Regions from separate parts of the Homo sapiens genome. Here regions 2 and 3 are each linked to region 1. The links are contacts of gene promoters, found by promoter capture Hi-C in human tissues and cell types (Jung and others, 2019). All regions are on one chromosome and are shown on one strand. The core of a region is centred on a gene start or on the middle of the fragment in contact, and the rest is flanking DNA. Distances in the headings are between cores, read along the strand shown.

Region 1 (3,736 bases), core at 818-3,317:
GAAAAAAATAAAAATAAAAAGGAGACACAATTAACCAGGTCATAAAAGCTAGGGCACCTTCGACCAGGGCTCTGGCCCTCCAGCGATCGTTTTGCGTTGTTTCTCTTCTCAAAAGTAGTCTCAGACCCCTGCCTTTCCGCTGCAGCTCTGCGACTTCCCCAAACTCCTTAATCCTGTAAATTCTGCAAGAAACTCCCATCCTGCAAGCTGCTTTTCCCCCTCCCCCCTGCGTTCCTTTTTTCTCTCCCCACCCGCGCCGCCTCTCTATGCCCCTCTCTTCTCAGAAAAATTCCTGCCCCCCGCGCGCCCCAAAGCCCGGGCTGCAAACTTTTCCCCGCCGGGCGCCTCTGCGCCAGATGCCGGAGCGTCTCCACAAAGCCTGAGCATCTGCACAAGTTCGCAGCCTAACTGCGGGATAAAGACGTTTCCCCCGTAGCTTAACTAGAAAAGCGCCATCGATGGGTGTGTTAAACGGGATAACTAGAGATTTCAAACACCTTTTATTTGCCTGTCTTGAAAAAAAAATCTAAATGAATACGCCCGCTACCAAAAGGCAAAATAAAACCAACCTTAAGGGTTTTTGTTGTTTTTTTTTTTTTTCAAAAGTGGCGATAGGGACTGTTTGGACCTGACTCCAACCTGCGCCCTCCCTTCCTCTATGACCCTCCTGCGCTTTTCCTGGAACCCAAAGCTCTGACTTCGTCAAACTTACACAATTAAAGGCAGGCGGAAGAACGCGGGCTGGGAAGCAAGCGGGAAGATTCTAGAATGGAAGGGAGCCCGCCGAGCGCCGCGAGCCGCGCCAGGCCGGGTCCGATGGAGCAGGCGGGGATTCCTCCCCCAGGCGGACCCCCGCCACCAGCCCTGCCGGGAGCTCGCGGCCTGCGGAGCGCCCGGGCTGGCCGCTCACCGCCCGCTTCCCCCAGCGAACGACTCGGGGAAGCTCCAGGAGGCCATCTGTGCTGACGGTTCACACCAGACAGGACCACTTGCAAGGACAAAAATAAGAAATTTAGGAAACGAAAAAAGACGTACTGGGGCGAGGGGCGCGGGCGCGGCGACGACGGGGCCGGGGGCACATCCTGGCGGCCGCTCGGGGAGAGAGGACACGCGCGGGAAGGAGCGCGGCGGGTGCACGGCCGCGGGTGGGAGTACGCGCCTGTGCGCGCGGGGCGAGGGCGAGGGCGCGTGCGTGTGACCGCGGGGAGGGGGCGGGCGCGTGTGCGGGGAGCGCGCCGCGCCAGGGGCCGAGTGTGTGGGGCCGATCCAGAAGTGCGCAGCCCCCTCACCTGGCCCCCGTGTCATCCCCGAAATCCCGGGAAAGGGTGGGCCGCGCGCGGGAGTTTGGTGGAGTTGGAACTTTCGGTCGCGCTCGCTGCCCACTCCGCTGGCGCCCGGTGGCCCGTGGTGAAGGGGGACTAGGGTGGGGAACACCGGGGCCCTGCGGTCCCCTCCCTTTCCTGTATTTAAGAAGCCGCCGGCGGCGCAGAGGCCCAGGCGGGCTGGCGCGGGGGCGAGGCGGCCCGGTGGCAGCAGCGGGCGGGGCGGGCGCTCCGGAGTCGGTGGGGCCCGCGGGTTGGGGGGCGGGGAGAGGGGGGAGTGGAAGGGAGGGGGAACGCAGGGGAGGGAGAGGAGGGGAGGAGCCGCGCGGCCCGCGCCGCTTCCGAACCGGAAAGTTGGTCTTGCCGAAGTCCTGCCACCCCGGCGTGCGCACTCCGCTCCGCTCCGGCCGCGAGCCTCCGAGCCCGGCCGGCCGCCGGGGGAAGCCCGCGGAGGGGACGCGGGGCCGGGCGAGAAGGTCCGGAGAGCGGGGGGCACCTGAGCCCGGGCGGGCCCGCCGCGCTGAGCGGCGCTGAGAGCCGCGGCGGAGCAGCGAAGGCGGCCGGCCGACCCCGCGCGCCCGGAACAGGAGGCGCGGCGCCCGAGCGGCCCGGGCGAGACAAAGGCGCCGGGTCGGAGCCCTGCCCGCGGCCGCTCGCTCCGGGAGGGGCCGCCCGGCGGCGGCGGCGGGGGGGGCGCGGGCGGCGGCGCAGACACTCTATAAAGGGGCGAGCCCGGCGCGCCGGCGGAGACGGCGCCGCGCGGACGCCGCCAAAGTTTGCTGCCTGCGCCCTGCGGAGGGACGGCCACCGCGGCCCGCGCCGCACCCGGGCCCCGCCACAGCCGCACCCGGGGCGGCCGAGGAGCGCGGCGCCGGAGCCCGCGATGTGAGGCGGCGCCGGGCAGCGCGCGCCCCGGTCCCGAGGCGCCGCGGCCCCCTCCTCGTCGGCGCGGCCGCTAATTGCGAGCGCGGCCTCATTTGCATAGGCCGCCGGAGTCCGCTGGAGCCCGGCCAATCGGCGCGGCCCTCCGCTAATGGCCATGCATTATTCACCAGCCTAATTGCTCAGCCCCATGCGCGGCCCGCGCAGCCGCCGCCGCCCCGCGCCCCGCGCCGCGCGCCCGCCAGGCCGCCCCGCGCCGTCCCCGCCGGCCGCCCCGCTGATGCCGCTGCCCCGCGCGGGGCCCGAGCGCCGCTAGCAGCATGTCTCGGCGCAAGCAGGCCAAGCCCCAGCACCTCAAGTCGGACGAGGAGCTGCTGCCGCCTGACGGGGCTCCCGAGCACGGTGAGGGCCGGGGCTGCGGGGTGGCCGGGGGGTCTGGGGCTGCCCGTCCGGGCTGGGGAAGCGCGTGCGGCGGGAGCGGATGCGCGCGTCCGGGAGCGGGAGAAAGTTCCCTGCTTCCTGCGGGCAAGCGTCCGCCCCGCGCCAGGCCGGCCGCGGGGCCCCGGGTACTTCGCCGGAGCGCGCGCGGCCGCCGAGAGAGTTGTGGGCGAAGTAAACTTGGCTCCTCTCCTCGGAGTCGGGGAGCTGCCCGCGAAGGGCGCCGAGGCCGCGGCCGGCTCGAGGACGGCTCGGAGGCCGGGGCGGGAGGGAGTCCACGGTGCCTCCGCCGCCGCGCCGCCCCCCAGGGTCTCTGCGCCAGGACGCTGAGGCCGGCGGCGGCGGGGAAGGCGACCGCAGCCCACCTACCGCTGGACGCGGGTTGGGGACCCCGCCGCCCGGCCAGCTTTGTTCGGGGGCCCGCGGCCCCTCCCGGGCCCCCGCACCGCCTCGGGTGACCCGCGGTGTCCCAGCGCGTTGACGCAGCCTGTGATCCCTCGCGAGGCGAGGAGAAGGTCGGGGGCTTGGCTCTGCCTAATGGCCGCCCGGGGAATTAAGCTGGGGGTGAGCGCAGCGGCGGCGGCCTGGGCCTGGCCCCTGCTCGCGGCGTGTTTCCGGGGCGTTCGTTGCAGCGTCTGCGCGGGCCTTTTCTCTCCCGTCTTTTTGGATCCGCCGAGGCCGGGCGCTGGAGACCTCGGCTTTGCAGTCATTTCGCTGGTAGGAGCGTCCTCTTCGAAACATCCAAGAGCAAAGGGCAGGCGCCGCGAAAGTTAAGAGACTGGCAAAGGGCTGGACTTCCCAGAGTGGCGCCTTAGCCCCGCAAAGTTTGGGGCGCCCCCACCCCCTTCGTCGAGTCAAAACCTCGGCCGGCGGCGCCCGGGCTTCGGCGCGCCCCGCGGGGCCCCCAGGGCGCCAGGAAAGAGGGCCGAGGAGGGGCGACCCCACGACCCCGAGCCCGCAGCACAGCTCGCAGTAAAATAATTTGCTCCTTAAAAAAACAGGCAGGCCAACTTTTATGATTGACCTGTTATAAGTTGTTGGAGGCAGATGGTGATCTTTTTACTCTGAGAATGAGACTGTCTGCGAAAAGGAAA
Region 2 (3,736 bases), core at 919-3,418, 43 kb before region 1:
GGCAGTTTGCAGCGACTTTAACGGAACATGCTGATGGGGCTACCTACACCTTGGACACTTTTCCCTCAGCCCGGCCTGTTTTCCTGTTTCTCACATGCGCTTTCTCACTTTCCAGCAGCCTCTTTCTCCTTTTTCAATCTCTCCTGTCTGGCCTTCCATTGTTATTCAGCCTGCTCATTGCTGCGGGCAGCCCGGACGTACTGGCCATCATCTGAAACCACAAACGACAGCGCGCAATAAGCTGGAGAAAGCAGCAATCTAGGAAAGTTCTTCATTCACTCTTGTTCCTAACTCTCTGTCTTCTTATCCTACACAGAAAATAAAAAAATCAATACCGCCTCACAAGGCTTGATAAAAGTGCCGGCTGAGTACAGCAGGCATGCTGGATATAGTAAATTAAAGTGATCAAAACTTTCCAGTCGACTCTGCCTATAGCCCACATAAACTAACAGCCCTGTCTGTCGGATGCCCATCAGCTGGAAGCTTTATTTTATCGGTGCCTCTGATTATCTGGGGAACGAATACATAGGCCTGCTTGGGTCCAGGAGTCCCTGTGTCCGTGTGTGAACATGGGTGGCCCTGGGAGAAATTCCACGGCGAGCCGAGAACAGAGCCAGCAGTCTCCCAGGGGTGCATGTGGGTAGACGGGTGGGTGCCAACATGAGGACTTGCAGGCTTTGGCTCAGACATGGGGAGGGAGAAGCACCGGGCGGGAGACTGGGGGCTGGCCAGACTGTGCCCAGCCCTGCCCTGTGAGCCAGTGACCTTGGGTGAGTGACTTGGCCTCAGGAAGCTGAGTGGTTTTGTCTGCACAACAGCTGCAGTGATGGTGACAACAAAGGGACAGTATCACAAACCTCAGGTGGAGGTGTGAGAATCGTGAAGCAATGTCTACAAAACCCCTTCAGTGTGGTGAGTGCTCGCACAATGTGTGAGCAGGTGCGCACACACATACACACACACACACGCACCATAAGAAACTGAAATCTGGTATGCTTTTCATCTCCGTAAGAGACAATTTTCCATCTAGGTAAACAAATCAGCATTCAGCGTGCATATTCCTAACAGACCAAATTATGAATAAATGTCATTTCAATAGCAGCTTTTTCTATACCATTTACCAACATAGAAATAAACATTTCATTTAGCTTTAGAGTGCAATTCGAATTAACTTGACTAAAATCCACTGGGCTGCCTTCAGTGAGAGATGGAATATCTCTGCCATCTACAATGACAGCCGAGAAATCACTGGCATCACTACCATTAGCCCAATTCTCCCATCAAAACCCGTGACCCTAGCTAAGTAACTGACATTTGTCCAATGCTGGAAATGAACTAATAGTTTCCATCGACCATCAGAGAAATGAAAAAGGAACCAGAGCAAATCAGCACGCCCTGGCCAGGGCAGAGAAATCAGGGATGGCCGCCAGGCAGCGCGGGAGCACAGGTGCAGCTAACGGCCAAATTCCACCCGTGAGCACACACGCACGCTTCCAGGTCCACACCATGGGCCCAGACTGCCTCGGAGATCAAAGAATAAACTCAGGTATCTACGTTAGCTGCCTGGCCTTAGTGGGGCTCACACTCCGCCAAGAGTTTCCAGCTGCAAGGATGACCAGGCCCAGCCTGGGACCTGAGTGTCTGTGGAGGCAGAAGCAGGGCTGCTTTGCTGGCACAGGCCGAGAGCCGGGGAGGTGGGCAGGGAGGGGGCACAGCCCAGGAAGGCTGAGGGCCAGGGAGGTGGGCGGGGCGGGGGCACAGCCCAGGAAGGCTGAGGGCCAGGGAGGTGGGCAGGGCAGGGGCACAGCCCAGGAAGGCTGAGGGCCAGGGATGTGGGTAGGGCAGGAGCACCGACCAGGAAGACGTCGGGCCAGGGATGTGGGCAGGGCGGTAGCACAGTCCAGGAAGGCCGCACGGAAGAGGAGACAGGTAGGGCGGGGCCAGAGCTCAGGAAGGCCACGAACCGGGAGACGGGCAGGGCAGGGCTGGAGCCCAGGCTCATACCTGGCTCGGCCTCTCTCAGTGCAGACCATCTCCAAACCTCGGTTTTCTCATGCATAAAATTGGGTTATGAAAGCTACATTTCAGTATGATTGAGAAGATTAAAGGGAATATATGCAGAACATATAATGTGATACCTGGGTTCAATAAATGGTAGCAAGTCTTACTGCAAAATCTGAAATGACCCACTAAAACCTGACCTAACCTTTTCCCCCACAGACAGGTGCTGACGAAAGACAGGAGATGAGCTGGGAAGGTGGACAGTCACATGCAAAAGAAAAGAGGCAGAGAGGATGAATATTCCAAACTCCCTTCTCTCAAGGGATGTGCATTTGCCCCAATTCAAACCAACCTGTGGAGAGATGGGGCTGGTGGTTGCCCAGGGACCAGACCACTCGGCTTGATCTCAGCTGTGAAGGGATGGGGCTGGTGGTTGCCCAGGGACCAGACCACTTGGCTTGATCTCAGCTGTGAAGAGATGGGGCTGGTGGTTGCCCAGGGGCCAGACCACTGAGCTTGATCTCAGGTCTGTCACCATGGGTAATAGCTGACCTTTAACAAACAAACATCTTACAAAAATTTCCAAACATGCATAAAGATGGATGGATCAATACAGCGAAGCCGGAGCGCCCGTCACCACCCGGCTTCTGCTGCTGTCGACACACGGGCGATTCAGCTCATGCTCCCCAATTCTCCACCCGCTCTGTGTTTTTTGCTTGTTCGGTTGGTTGATTGGTTGGTTGGGGTTTTTTGGGTTTTTTTTTTTTTTTGAGATGGAGTCTTGCTCTGTTGCCAGGCTGGAGTGTAATGGCGCAATCTCGGCTCACTGCAACCTCCACCTCCCGGGTTCAAGCGATTCTCCTTCCTCAGCCTCCCAAGTAGCTGGGAATACAGGCATGCACCACCATGCCCAGCTAATTTTTGTATTTTTAGTAGAGATGGGGTTTCACCACATTGGCCAGGATGGTCTGGATCTCTTGACCTTGTGATCCGCCCACCTCGGCCTCCCAAAGTGCTGGGGTTACAGGCATGAGCCACTGTGCCTGGCCCGCTTTGTGTTGTTTTAAAGCAAATCCCGGGCATATTATCTCATTGGCAAACACCTCTGCTTGTTTAACCTAATCCTATCATCATCACTTTTTTTTTCTTTTTTTTGAGACAAAGTCTCGCTCTTGTCCCCCAGTCTGGAGTACAGTGGCACGATCTTGGCTCACTGCATCCTCCGCCTCCCGGGTTCAAGCGATTCTCCTGCCTCAGCCTCCCAAGTATCTGGGATTACAGGTGCGTAGCAACACACCCAGATAATTTTTTGTATTTTAAGTAGAGACGGGGTTTCACCATGCTGGCCAGGCTGGTCTCGAACTCCTGACCTCAGGTAATTTGCCCATCTCGGCCTCCCAAAGTGCTGGGATTACAGGTGTGAGCCACCGCGCCTGGCCTATCACATCTTAAATACCTAACAAGTGTCTTCATATTATCAAATGCCCCAATTATCTCATAAATATCTATGATTGTTGGCTTCTCTGAATCATAGCTGCCTTTTTCAAAGGGCAAAATCTGGGATACAAGAAGGTGTTCAGTCCAATTTTCAGGCAAAAGAGGCAGTGGCTTTGCATTGTCATCTGAGTTTTGCTACAAGCTCTAATCTGTCACCAAAATATCTGTCCCTCCAGTACTCAATAATGATGACATTTCTCTCCATTGGAGTCTCATCGGAGTTGGACAGTAATTGTCA
Region 3 (3,736 bases), core at 595-3,094, 35 kb after region 1:
AAATGTTTAAGCTTTAAGAAGACAAACACAATCAAAACCATAATTTTGCACCCTTAACCAAGCAGAAAGCTGGAGGATTGCATTGAACACTCACAGGTGAGTGTCCTATCCCCATAAATGACTCTGGCTTCTGATACGGGGTCTTTTTAGCCATGGAGAAGGGAAGGTATCACAATCTGGACGCCAAAGAATTAAAAACAGAATAATGTTGGAGGAGATATAAAATTGAGGAATCACCATCACTATACACAGCACAGCTCCCAAGTAAACAATTGTCTGGGCAAATATGTACTTTTGATACTTCTGAAAACCCAGGAGAAGCACTTTCTGTAAATTGTGAAAGAATGTGTGTGCTGTTTGCCTATACACACAGCATTTCCCACCCAAAGCTTTCTTTCCCTTTGTGCTGTAAATCCAGCTCAGTGCTGAAGAAGTCACTTCCACAGCCGAGATAAAATATTTATCTTCAGCAAAAAGGGCATAAACAATTGTTGAGGAAAATATACAATAAGTTCTTAAATGTCTGCATAATTGAAGCACTTAGGTGTGTTTTGGGTAATAGAAATAATAGCAGAACCAAAACTCTTTTTATAAAGGTAACATTTTTCTTAAATGCCGAAAGCAAACTCTTGAAGTCCCATCAGCCTAGCGACAGTGAGAACCTTCCCGGGCTCCGGGACCCATGGCAGGAATGTGAAACTGTGCCAGGGCGAAGGACTTTCAACAGAAAGAAACACGCTGCTGAGGCAGCTGAACAGAGACTTTTAACACAGGAAATGGTAACTCCATTTGCTCCAGATGCAGCGGGACAGACATCTGCCAGGCCCTGAGTTATGCCAGAGCATCTCCCGTGGAATGGACCAGGGTATGCCTGCCACCTGCCCGACGGGTATTTGGTTCAAAGGCCACATTAGAAATGAACACCTAATTAATTGGATTTGGAAAAACCTGAGAAATCAAACACACTGCATGACCGGGTGTGTGATCAGCCCCCTCCTTACTACTTAAATCAAACACACTGCATGACCGGGTGTGTGATCAGCCCCCTCCTTACTACTTAAATCAAACACACTGCATGACCGGGTGTGGGATCAGCCCCCTCCTTACTACTTAAATCAAACACACTCCATGACCGGGTGTGGGATCAGCCCCCTCCTTACTACTTAAATCAAACACACTGCATGACCGGGTGTGTGATCAGCCCCCTCCTTACTACTTAAATCAAACACACTGCATGACCGGGTGTGTGATCAGCCCCCTCCTTACTACTTAAATCAAAGACACCTCATGACCGGGTGTGTGATCAGCCCCCTCCTTACTACTTAAATCAAACACACTGCATGACCGGGTGTGGGATCAGTTCCCCCCTTACTACTTAAATCAAACACACTGCATGACCGGGTGTGGGATCAGTTCCCCCCTTACTACTTAAATCAAACACACTGCATGACCGGGTGTGGGATCAGCCCCCTCCTTACTACTTAAATCAAACACACTGCATGACCAGGTGTGTGATCAGTCCCCTCCTTACTACTTAAATCAAACACACTCCATGACCGGGTGTGGGATCAGCCCCCTCCTTACTACTTAAATCAAACACACTGCATGACCGGGTGTGGGATCAGCCCCCTCCTTACTACTTAAATCAAACACACTGCATGACCGGGAGTGTGATCAGCCCCCTCCTTACTACTTAAATCAAACACACTGCATGACCGGGTGTGGGATCAGTCCCCTCCTTACTACTTAAATCAAACACACTGCATGACCGGGTGTGGGATCAGTCCCCTCCTTACTACTTAAATCAAACACACTGCATGACCGGGTGTGTGATCAGTCCCCTCCTTACTACTTAAATCAAACACACTCCATGACCGGGTGTGTGATCAGCCCCCTCCTTACTACTTAAATCAAACACACCTCATGACCGGGTGTGTGATCAGCCCCCTCCTTACTACTTAAATCAAACACACTCCATGACCGGGTGTGTGATCAGCCCCCTCCTTACTACTTAAATCAAACACACTCCATGACCGGGTGTGTGATCAGTCCCCCCCTCCTTACTACTTAAATCAAACACACTGCATGACCGGGTGTGGGATCAGTCCCCTCCTTACTACTTAAATCAAACACACTGCATGACCGGGTGTGGGATCAGTCCCCTCCTTACTACTTAAATCAAACACACTGCATGACCGGGTGTGGGATCAGTCCCCTCCTTACTACTTAAATCAAACACACTGCATGACCGGGTGTGTGATCAGTCCCCCCCTCCTTACTACTTAAATCAAACACACTGCATGACCGGGTGTGGGATCACCCCCCTCCTTACTACTTAAATCAAACACACTGCATGACCGGGTGTGGGATCAGCCCCCTCCTTACTACTTAAATCAAACACACTCCATGACCGGGTGTGTGATCAGCCCCCTCCTTACTACTTAAATCAAACACACCTCATGACCGGGTGTGTGATCAGCCCCCTCCTTACTACTTAAATCAAACACACTGCATGACCGGGTGTGGGATCAGTCCCCTCCTTACTACTTAAATCAAACACACTCCATGACCGGGTGTGGGATCAGCCCCCTCCTTACTACTTAAATCAAACACACTCCATGACCGGGTGTGTGATCAGCCCCCTCCTTACTACTTAAATCAAACACACTGCATGACCGGGTGTGGGATCAGCCCCCTCCTTACTACTTAAATCAAACACACTCCATGACCGGGTGTGTGATCAGCCCCCTCCTTACTACTTAAATCAAACACACTCCATGACCGGGTGTGTGATCAGTCCCCCCCTCCTTACTACTTAAATCAAACACACTGCATGACCGGGTGTGGGATCAGTCCCCTCCTTACTACTTAAATCAAACACACTCCATGACCGGGTGTGTGATCAGCCCCCTCCTTACTACTTAAATCAAACACACCTCATGACCGGGTGTGTGATCAGCCCCCTCCTTACTACTTAAATCAAACACACTGCATGACCGGGTGTGGGATCAGTCCCCTCCTTACTACTTAAATCAAACACACTCCATGACCGGGTGTGGGATCAGTCCCCCTCCTTACTACTTAAATCAAACACACTCCATGACCGGGTGTGTGATCAGCCCCCTCCTTACTACTTAAATCAAACACACTGCATGACCGGGTGTGGGATCAGCCCCCTCCTTACTACTTAAATCAAACACACTCCATGACCGGGTGTGTGATCAGCCCCCTCCTTACTACTTAAATCAAACACACTCCATGACCGGGTGTGTGATCAGTCCCCCCCTCCTTACTACTTAAATCAAACACACTGCATGACCGGGTGTGTGATCAGTCCCCTCCTTACTACTTAAATCAAACACACTGCATGACCAGGTGTGTGATCAGTCCCCTCCTTACTACTTAAATCAAACACACTGCATGACCGGGTGTGGGATCAGCCCCCTCCTTACTACTTAAATCAAACACACTGCATGACCGGGAGTGTGATCAGCCCCCTCCTTACTACTTAAATCAAACACACTGCATGACCAGGTGTGTGATCAGCCCCCTCCTTACTACTTAAATCAAACACACTGCATGACCGGGTGTGTGATCAGCCCCCTCCTTACTACTTAAATCAAACACACTCCATGACCGGGTGTGTGATCAGTCCCCTCCTTACTACTTAAATCAAACACACCTCATGACCGGGTGTGTGATCAGTCCCCTCCTTACTACTTAAATCCAACACACC

What was found. The method cuts DNA at HindIII sites, captures the fragments that hold promoters and counts their contacts. A contact is called where the count stands out against the background at its distance.
Region 2: a fragment that was not itself captured here is called in contact with the fragment with the promoter of SALL3 in region 1 in 3 of the 25 tissues and cell types used here (adrenal gland, pancreas and spleen).
Region 3: a fragment that was not itself captured here is called in contact with the fragment with the promoter of SALL3 in region 1 in 6 of the 25 tissues and cell types used here (IMR-90 fibroblasts, adrenal gland, bladder and 3 more).

The regions. Positions count from the first base shown.
Region 1 is chr18:78,977,751-78,981,486 of GRCh38, forward strand. It overlaps SALL3 (spalt like transcription factor 3), which reads left to right and starts at 2,068. Exons shown (of 3, transcript NM_171999.4): 1 at 2,068-2,606. The coding sequence starts at 2,525. It overlaps LINC01896 (long intergenic non-protein coding RNA 1896), which reads right to left and starts at 1,941. Exons shown (of 5, transcript NR_187297.1): 1 at 1,290-1,941; 2 at 713-988; 3 at 58-182. RefSeq lists an enhancer at 3,485-3,736. The HindIII fragment of the contact is 21,440 bases long and covers 1-3,736 here.
Region 2 is chr18:78,934,940-78,938,675 of GRCh38, forward strand. No RefSeq gene overlaps it. Among named protein-coding and RNA genes, the nearest start is that of LINC01896, 43 kb to the right of the region's middle. RefSeq lists enhancers at 1-234, 235-1,202. The HindIII fragment of the contact is 3,911 bases long and covers 214-3,736 here.
Region 3 is chr18:79,013,357-79,017,092 of GRCh38, forward strand. The region is part of intron 2 of LOC105372225 (a long non-coding RNA gene); the gene reads right to left. Among named protein-coding and RNA genes, the nearest start is that of SALL3, 35 kb to the left of the region's middle. The HindIII fragment of the contact is 9,218 bases long and covers 1-3,736 here.